Linked DNA regions of Homo sapiens: regions 2 and 3 are each linked to region 1. Evidence: promoter capture Hi-C in 16 types of primary human blood cells and fetal thymus (Javierre and others, 2016). All regions are on one chromosome and are shown on one strand. Each heading gives the region's core, a stretch centred on a gene start or on the middle of the fragment in contact. The rest is flanking DNA. Distances are from core to core; before and after follow the strand shown.

Region 1 (3,197 bases), core at 465-2,964:
GCTCACTGCAGCCTCGACCTCCCTGGCTCAAGTGATCCTCCCACCTCAGCCTCCCAAAGTGTTGGGATTAAAGGTGTGAGCCACCGAGCCCGGCCCCACATTCTTCTAATTTTTTTTTTGTTGTTGTTGAGATGGAGTCTCACTCTGTCGTCCAGGCTGGAGTGCAGTGGCGCGATCTCAGCTCACTGCAACCTCCCAGGTTCAAGCAGTTCTCCTGCCTCAGCCTCCCGAGTAGCTGGGATTACAGGCGTGCGCCACCATGCCCGGCTAATTTTTGTATTTTTAGTAGAGACGGGGATTTCACCATGCTGGCCAGGCTCGTCTCGAACTCCTGACCTCGTGATCCGCCCGCCTGGGCCTCCCAAAGTGCTAGGATTACAAGCGTGAGCCACCGCGCCCGGCCCATTCTTCTTTTTTAAAACAACCTTTCCCCTCATAAAAGTAATATTACCATTTTACAAAAAATTGGAAGGCAAATCATTTTTAAAAATCCCGCCAAAGGAATGCAAACTCTTGTGAGCATTTCAGGACATTTTCCTCCAGTCTCTTCCCCTGTGTATCTGGATTTCAATCAGGCTCTACCAGATATTTTTGTATCACTGTAACTGTTTAAAAATCTCCCTGATACTGTCCTGCATTTCCTGGCATAACGTGTTGCGGCTGTGGGTCTGGGGCACGAAGTAGGTGGGAGATTTAGAGCAAGACACAGCCCCAACTCTGGAGCTTCAGCTTCCCCAGCTGGGAGCCAGTGAAACAGAAGTTCCCGTCTAGGCTGAAAGTTTTAGGAGTTGACCCGGCTTCCTCCCCAGCAATGGTCTACTTGGGTCTCCGCTCAAACGATCAGACCCCACAAACCGGATGAAGCGCTCAGGGAAGGTCAAGGAACTCCCGCCTAGTGTGGGCCCCCAGGTTAGCCCTTCTAGGGCTGTCCTGGCGGGGACGCAAAGTGGCCACCTGCCCAGCTGCCCGCTTCCAGAGGCGTCCTCCCTGCGCCGCCCGAGAGGACCGGCCGCGGGCTCCCCCAGCTCCTCAGCTCCCTCGGCCCCGCCTTCAGGGGCTTTTCCCACCTTCGCGGGACCAGACGGGTTGTGTGGGAGACCGAGGGCGCAGCCTCCCGCCAAGTGCGCAGAGGGTCTCCAGACAGCCAGAGCCCGGGAGCGGGTGAAGGGAGGGCACTGCCCGCTCTCTCGGGAATTGTTTGCGCCCGAGGAGTCACCCCAGGCAGGCCGCGCCCGCAGTCCGGGTAGGGCGTCGTCCTCCCCGCCCGCCTTCCTCTACGCGGGGGCCCGGGGGCGGACTGACGCGGCGGCGCCCATCCTGGCCTCCATGCGGTTTCCCGAGGCCGGAGGAAGGTGGCGGAGCGGGAGGGAGAGAGCGAGGAGCGCGCGGAGAGGGAGGACGGCGGAGGGGGAGGAGCAAGCGGAGGGGTGGGGGTGGGGTCGAGGAGCCGAGCGCCGAGGAGGACCCCGAGGGAGACTGGGGGCGGAGCAGCCGGCGACGGAGAGGCGCGGAGGACGCGGGGCCGGGGGAGGCGGAGCAGCGGGAGTGGGTGGAAAAGCAGAGGCGGCGGGAGGAGCGGGAGCCTCCGTGGGAGATTCGGGAGGAGCAGCCGGCGTGGGTGGAGCCGCCGGCGTGGGAGGAGCCGCGGGGCCTGGGTGAGAACGGGGCGGGACGGCCGGAGGCGGGGCCTGCGAACGCCCTGCCCCTGCTCGCCCGGGCCGCGCCGAGGAACGAAGATGGCCGGGCGCGCCGCGGGAACGGAGGGGCGGCCGGCAGCGGCGGCGGCGGCGGCGGCGGCTCCCGGGCTGTGACTTCGCGCGCGGCGGCCACCCGGGCTACCTGAACGGAGTGGGCGGCGCGGGCAGCGGCTTGCTAGGGCGGGCGGGCGGACGCCGGTGCACGGGCGCCGGGCGGAGGATGCGCCAGGAGCGGCGGGCGGCTCCCCGCGGCCGCCCCCGCGCCCCGGGCGCCGGGCCTTAGTGCTGGCGGAGGAGGCGGCGCGCGCGGGGCGGCCGGGCGGCGGCGGGGCCCGCGCCGTCATGCCTTGGCTGAGCGGCGGCCGGCGGCGACGGCGGGGACAGCCGCGCGAGGCCCCGCGGGAGCCGCCGCCTTCTGCGCAGCCCCAGCGGGAACCGCGCCGCCGGCGCCCCCCGCCGCGGTCCCCACGCCCCCAGCTCCTTCCGCGCCGCCGCCGCGGGCCCGGGAGAGCGCCGAGCTGCCGCTGCCCGCCGGCTGGGAGGAGGCGCGAGACTACGACGGTCGCGTCTTTTACATTGACCACAACACGCGCCAGACGTCGTGGATCGACCCCCGCGACCGGTAAGCGGGCCGGCTGGGGGCGCCAGACCCGGCGCGGGCGCTACGACCCGGGCCGCCGGCCGGCGCCACCGCGGATGCGCTGGGGACACGCCCCGCCCAGCGCGGGGCCGCCGCCGAGAGCCCCCGGGCCCGGGCAGAGCTCGGAGCGCCTCCATCCCCGGAACCAGGGGACTCCCTGGAGTGCTCCGGTCCAGGCTACGATCGAGGCGCCCCCATCCCTTGGGCCCAGGGAGAGGATCGGAGACACCAGGAGGCCCTCGGGGCTGGGTGAAGATCTTTGGTTCCGGGGGTCCGGGAGAGGATCCACCCTCCCAATACCCCGACTCCCAGGGCTCTGACCAAGAATGGAGGTGCCCCTTCTCCAGGCCTCGAGCCCTCTGAGCGCCGAGGCCGGCCGCCTACAGGTCCCCCGCCGCTGGGCGGACCCTCTCATTCGGTTCCCTCACGTCACCCGCTGTCCGGCGCCTGGGAACTGGGCTCCTGGAATTTCCTCTCCTGGGGCTGACAGATGGCCCTCTTTTCCTTTCTCTGCGGCAGCCTCGCCCATCCCGGTCCCGGGCGTCTGCGGCCCACTGCCCCGGCCCTGGTTCTGCAGGTGTCCCCAGCCCCGCGGTGGCGAGATGAGCTGTCACCTTGGATCACAAACGTGCGCCCCAGCTTTGGGGTGCGGGTTCCCTGTCTGGCGGGTTCAGGCTGGTTTCCATCCAAAACCTGATGTCAGACGGGCCCTTGAGGGATTCCCAACCCTTTTGGAGTTGGAGAAGTCTGTTCCCAAACTCTAGTTGCTCTTTAGCGCCTTAAAACTCGTGAGTTAAAACTGTTTGAAATAGCCTTCTGTACTGCAGCCAGAATGCAATATGATTAGTCCCATATGCTTT
Region 2 (3,197 bases), core at 457-2,956, 2.9 Mb before region 1:
TGTTTTATATTTACACATTTGGTGAAAGAATGGGATAAACAAAGGTATATTTCCAAGAAAGTTTTGCAAGGCCTTACCACCTCAAAGAAGAGGTAGGGCAGGAAAGGAGGAAATGGGCAGAAAATGAGGGGGGGGAATAAAAAGAAGCAGGGCTTATTTTTCCAAATAGCACTAATTCTTGGTTATCTGACTAGATCAGAGGATTGGGTAACAATGTGAGGTCAATGCTTGTAATGCCATTTAAGTCACATTCATCACTTCAGGGCATGGCTATGTGTGAATCTAGAATCAGAATTAGGCACCAAGCTCATTTAGAAGTTTAATAAATTTAATTTTAATGAGACATCTTGTTTGGTATTAAAATTCATGAGACTCCCAGAACAGGTTCTCTGGACCTTTATTAGAGGATAAGAAATTTATTTGACAATTTAACTTTTTGACCACCGGAGTAGGAAAATTCATGTCTACAAACTATACCTATGTATCCCACAAGCTTTCTGAAATTGAGTCATTTCAAATTTAGTAGCTGCATACACCGTTGGCTCCAATTAGTGACCTCTACGGGGATTTTTTTTTTCCTTTGGAATTCATCAGTTTACACCTCTGTGTTCATAAAATGAAGAGAATGGTTTCTGCATGCCTTTTTAAAAGGAAACACTGCTAGGGAATTACCCAGCAATATGATGAGCAGAAACAAGGTCACATTCACAATTTAAGATGAGCTCAACATCATTTATATTTAGAACTGGATCAATCCAGAATCGTTTCTCAGCTTGGCTTATTAGCTGTGTGACCTTGGGCAAGTAGCTTTACCTCTCTGAGCTGCAGGGTTTTTTTTTTTTTTTTTTTTTTAATTAGTGACATGCAAATACTTCCTCCTAACTTGCAGGGTTTTGAAATGAAGGAATGATATACGTAACCAAGCAGGTCAGCTGTCTACAAAGAGTATGCAGACATGTTTATAGATATATGAAGCCTCCTGGTGATTATGTGTCATAGTGTTAACTGTGTCAAGGCTTTCGGTAGAGCTCAGCATAGTTCTGTCTTGAGTTAAAAACAGGGTTTTATTCTTTGAATTCTACTTGAATTCCTCTTGGCTGGTGAAGTTCACATGTGCTAAGACTGACTACCTTAGTACACTGCCAAGGGTTTCTTAATGCCTCGGATTGATAGAGCAGCTGTTCTCAAACGTTCACGCGCTTAAAATGCAGATTCTGATTGGGCAGGGGTAGGGTGGGGCCCCAGCTTCTACATTTACAAGTAGCCCACAGGTGATGTCCCCGGTGCTGGTCACCCTAGGCAGCCAGGCCACTTGACGGACCTTCTGTGCCTCTACACTGTTGACGGCGCGGGATAATTCCTTATGGTTGCATAGGGCACTCCTGTGCACTGCGGGAAGTTTAACAGTATCACTGGTCTGGACTCCACTAGATGCCAGTGACCCCATCACTCCTCGCCAGCTGTGACAGCCAAAATGTCTCCTGACATCGCCATTGCCAGATGCCCTCAGGGCTGCAAAACCGCCAGGTAGAGAACCGCTACCATGCAGGATGCTACCATCAAAGTGCGCCCACAGCAGCAACCTTGGAGCAGGCAGGCAAGTATCCTCCAGGCTACTTTGCAGACGGGGAAGCTGAGGCTGGGCACCGCTCAAGGTCGCACGCATGCGTAACCGAAAAGAGAGCGCGGAGGTCCCGCCGCGCCTCGCTCTGAGGAGAGGACGCGGAGCCGCGCGCCCGCCCGGTGGACCCCAGGGACTGCTCCCACGTGCTCCGGCCCCACGCGCGGGCCGCCGACCGGAAGCGGGTGCTGGGGCCGCGTAGACGCCGCGGCCACGCGCGCCCGCCAGCCCGGACATGGGCCCGCGGGCGCTCCTGGCCGCCGCCCGACTTCGGGGCCAGCCGGGGGCAGAGCGCGCGGGAGCCCGAGCGTCCCTGCATGAACACCGCCCCGCCGCGGCCCCCAGGCCGTGACGTACCCCGCGCCGACCGTCCCCACGCCCACACAAGACCGCCCTTACTGGAGGCGGCGGCTGCACACTACCCACCCAGAAGAAGTCCGTCCATGTCAAAGATGAGGTGGGTGACGGGCTGCGGGGGCGCCGCCATGGTGGCGCCTTCTGGGTCTGGGTGGGGGCGAGGAGGAAGTGCGCGCGCACCCGCCCGCCCCGCGCACGCGCACTGAGGACCTTCTCGCGCGCCCGGGGTCGCTCTGCGCACGCGCCTTCCGCGGCCCCTCGCCCGGCTCCGAGCCCGCGCGTCCTGGGCTGCCTAGTGGCGCTCCGCGCACGCGCACCTTGGGCTTTCGCCGCAGCTGTAGCTGCAGACCCGGGATGCGGCGCGGGCCGGCGCTGTATGTTTACCCGCATCAATTCCTCCTCACTTCACACCCGGAATCGGGCCAAGCTACTCAGCCAGCGGCCGCGCAGAGCCGAGGCCCTCGTCTGGGGACAAATTCAGTGCTTGAGTTTGGATCAGGGGTGTGAATGAGGAAGGAGGGACAGTACAAGGGGCTGTAGAGTGGGGAAAGGGGATTGAAGATGCTCAGGGTGGTATCACTTCTAGCCATCAGGTTGCAGACAAATGGCCTTGGTCAGGAGGTCCCTGGGTGGGTTCGCCCGAGCCCCCAGTCCCTGGACCGTGGGTGGGTTTTTCTCAGTTTCGCTTGCCCGCCTCCTTGCGGTCCTGGACCGCGACTTGAACCGGCAGCCGCGCATGCGCAGTGTGCGGAGAGGCTGCACAACCTCCGTGCCTGCATCTCTGAGCATCCCAGGCTGGTGCATTGTCCCAGAGCAAAGCCAAGCTGCTCAAGGAGGATGCTGAAATAATACTAACAGTCAACATGTCTTGCTGGTTGTGCCTTCTTAGGTATCATCTGTCTTTTGGGCTGCTCTGAGTTTTCTTTCTTTTTTAACTTTTCAAATGCCACCTAAACAGCTTTCTTTTTTTTTTTTCCCGTTTGCCATCGTCAAAAAAATACTTTTTTGTCCCTGTTTCTATTTCGTGTTCGTTTATGTGGTATATTCACGTTTAAGGAAAAGGATTGGACCTTTTGAGAAGCGGAAATAGGAGAATTTCAAGACTTTAAAAACGTGAGGGTGTGCTGGGCGCAGTGGCCCACACCTGTAATCCCAGTACTTAGGGAGGCAGAAGTGGGAGTTGGGGGAATAGTTTGAGCCCAGAAGTTTAAGAACTGCC
Region 3 (3,197 bases), core at 201-2,700, 2.1 Mb before region 1:
GCTGGGATTACAGGCATGTGCCACCACGCCCTGCTAATTTTGTATTTTTAATAGAGACGGGGTTTCTCCATGTTGGTCAGGCTGGTCTCGAACTTCTGACCTCAGGTGATCTGCCCGCCTCGGCCTCCCAAAGTGTTGGAATTACAGGCGTGAGCCACTGTGCCCGGCAGGCATCTTAACACCTCTTGTCGGTCAACGTTACAAGTGCTTTGGTTTTTTAAAAAAACAAATCTCTTGTCGTGTATTCAATATGCTTTGCTTATTCTGCCTCCTGCTTGATAACTGCTCTTCTTTGTCACTTCCTCCCCAAATCTTGCAAACTGATCCCGATGAGCTGTGGAGCTTAGATACATGCACTTTAATTTCAGGGGAGTGTGGCAACACTGCTGGAGCACTGCCCTTTCCATGGGGGCTTCAAAGTGATACTCATGATAACATGCCCTCTGTGCCTAGTTTAAGCAATATCTTGTCTTGAGACCACCATGGAGTTCAGAGAAAGGAACTTTTGCAATCTTGGAGTAGAACTGCCCATCCGAAACCATAGAAAGAGGGGCTACTTCCTTCCTATAGATCACCATCTCTAGGAACACAGTGAGGGAATAGATGAAGAAGGTCATGTGTGAATGCCACTATGTGGAGGGAGCCAGCCTGAAAACAGAGGCAGCTTAGAGGGATCCAGAGCTGAGAATGAGGTAGAGAGAGAGAGACAGACAGACAGACAGACAGACACAGACAGGCACCTAGGTGTGGTTGCCCCTCTTGAGCCTGTGGATGCAAATGTAATATTATACATTGAACTGAAAAATAGAGATGGTAAGGATTTCCTGAGTATTTCTGTTATCGTATTAGAATTCCTTAATTACAGTGCTTGTAACTGGTGTTCTAGATAAGGTAGAGCCGGTAAGCTTTCAAAGGTTTCATGCATAAACAATATATTTTATATTCCTGACTCGCTTTCCCCACTACACCTACCCTTTTCTATTTGTTAAGTTAGTTAGCATTGAGTTTCTAAAGCTTGCAAACCAAACCGTTCTTACTAATGTAAGTGCTTTTTACATTGCGCATGGCTGTTTTCCATTAGAAATATGCTACAAAAACTGACTACTTAAAGGAACACTGGGTAAATTCTTTCTAAATGTAATATACTTTCAAAAAATATGAATTTTATATATATACCATATTATATATATTACATTATTACATATTTCTGTTATATATATGTTTACATATTTATATAAAACAAAATAAGACTTTTCTTTGATAGCATCTGTGTTTTAGTCTGTTCAGACTGCTATAACAAAATACCCAAAACCGGGTGGCTTATGAACAATAGAAATGTGTTTCTCACAGATCTAGAAGATGAACATTCCAAGATAAGTCACTAGCAGATGGTGTGTGTTGAGGTCCTATTTCCTGATTCATAGATGGCACCTTTTTGCCCTGTCCTCACATGGTGGAAGGGGCAAGGGAGCTCTCTGGGGCCACTTTGATAAGGGCACTAAACCCATTCATGAGGCTCCACCTTCAGGACCTCCTCCCCTCCCAAAGACCGCACATCCTAACACCATCACTGTGGGGGATAGGATTCAACAAATACATTTTTGGGATGGGACACAAACATTCAGACCATAGCAATCTGAAAACATAATTCAAAATAGCCATCCTTTGGAAATATAATTTATTTATGACTCAGTATATCTGATAATATATGATAATCTTTAGATCTTTTAACATGGTGTTGAAACTAAATATCAGACTATTTCTATTAAAGAGAAACATTTTAAAAATGTGACATTTATTTTATAAACTTCATTTTAATTTAATATGTGAAGGGTTCCAAATGTAATATTATGCATTGAGCTGAAAAACAGAGATAGTAAAGTAGGCAAGCTTTCAGAGTTCTTATACTTAAACGATATATTTTATAGAAAACGGGTTCAGATCCTTGATAGCCAGGTGGTGAGTATGTGGTACCAAATGTACACATAATCCTAAATATTTTTTAAAATCCCAGTCAAAGAAAACTGGTATTCTCTGCTCTGTGTACTTCATCGCAAAGCAACTGTACAGTGGACATGGCTGCTAGGGGTCCACCAATTGTTCAGACATAAATAGTCCTTTCTAGCCTTCAAATATTTTTCTTATCATGGAGCCGATTACTGAGGAAATAATATCAATATCAAGTAAGTAATATTGTTGGGTGACAGGTGGACAGCTTCAGTGCCTTATGCTCCATCAAATTCACCAAAATACTGTATTTTAATTTGGAGTACAAGATCTAGACATTACCAGTGCTGTTATCAAAATGAACACCGTAACTACTAAAACATTTAATTATCTAATCACCTCATTTCAAAGAGACAAAATAAAGATTTTGGTCTATTCTTTGTTAGTAAAATGCCTTGCTTTCCTGAGCACCCACTCCTATTATTAGAATCTTATTATTAATATTTACTACACTTATTGTCTGCCCACTCCATGCCAGTCCTTTATATACATTGTCTCATATCACTTGTACAATGTTAAAAGATAGAAATATATGGGCCGGGCGTGGTGGCTTACAGCTATAATCCCAGCACTTTGGGAGGCCGAGGCAGGTAGATCACCTGAGGTTGGGAGTTCGAGACCAGCCTGACCAACATGGAGAAACCCCGTCTCTACTAAAAATACAAAATTAGTTGGGCGTGGTAGCGCGTGTCTATAATCCCAGCTACTCAGGAGGCTGAGGCAGGAGAATCACTTGAACCCGGGAGGTGGAGCTTGCGGTGAGCTGAGATGGCGCCATTGCACTCTAGCCTGGGCAACAAGAGTGAAACTCTGTCTCAAAAAAAAAAAAAAAAAACAGAAATATATAATAATATATAATAGATGACTCAAATAAAAAGAGAAATATATAATAGATGAAAGTTTAAGGTAGCCTTTCCATATCTGTGCTGAGATTATAAGGCCAGGTTGCCCTGCTCTAAAGCCTGTGCACAAATTAGTAAAATACTAAGCTTTTATGATGTGCCAAGCTTTGTGTTATTTGGCTACTCTGAGTCTCAGAATCTTTCTTCCTGTAATTCTTTCTCAGGTTAGAATTTGTGATTGGTTTCATATCTGGATGTTTATAATTTAAAAATGGTAAAAGTCTTAATAGATGTTATATATGAGTTTATAGCATTTAAAGAACTTGTTCGCGTCTTGAAAAGAAAAAT

Evidence for each region. The method cuts DNA at HindIII sites, captures the fragments that hold promoters and counts their contacts. A CHiCAGO score of 5 or more calls a contact.
Region 2: a contact is called between the fragment with the promoter of STS here and the fragment with the promoter of WWC3 in region 1, in 2 of 17 cell types (activated CD4 T cells and total CD8 T cells). The highest score is 5.8, in activated CD4 T cells.
Region 3: a contact is called between a fragment that was not itself captured here and the fragment with the promoter of WWC3 in region 1, in 1 of 17 cell types (total CD8 T cells). The highest score is 5.3, in total CD8 T cells.

The regions. Positions count from the first base shown.
Region 1 is chrX:10,013,540-10,016,736 of GRCh38, forward strand. It overlaps WWC3 (WWC family member 3), which reads left to right and starts at 1,715. Exons shown (of 24, transcript NM_015691.5): 1 at 1,715-2,134; 2 at 2,137-2,319. The coding sequence starts at 2,040. RefSeq lists enhancers at 1-713, 714-1,597 and silencers at 1,418-1,587, 1,628-1,687. The HindIII fragment of the contact is 8,733 bases long and covers 1-3,197 here.
Region 2 is chrX:7,146,006-7,149,202 of GRCh38, forward strand. It overlaps STS (steroid sulfatase), which reads left to right and starts at 1,707. Exons shown (of 11, transcript NM_001320752.2): 1 at 1,707-2,078. PUDP (pseudouridine 5'-phosphatase) reads right to left here and starts at 2,148. Exons shown (of 4, transcript NM_012080.5): 1 at 2,048-2,148. The coding sequence starts at 2,108. It overlaps MIR4767 (microRNA 4767), which reads left to right and starts at 1,855; the gene lies at 1,855-1,932. RefSeq lists a silencer at 1,668-2,387 and an enhancer at 2,578-2,627. The HindIII fragment of the contact is 8,353 bases long and covers 492-3,197 here.
Region 3 is chrX:7,930,537-7,933,733 of GRCh38, forward strand. The region is part of intron 1 of LOC107985675 (a long non-coding RNA gene); the gene reads left to right. Among named protein-coding and RNA genes, the nearest start is that of PNPLA4, 4.7 kb to the left of the region's middle. The HindIII fragment of the contact is 876 bases long and covers 1,013-1,888 here.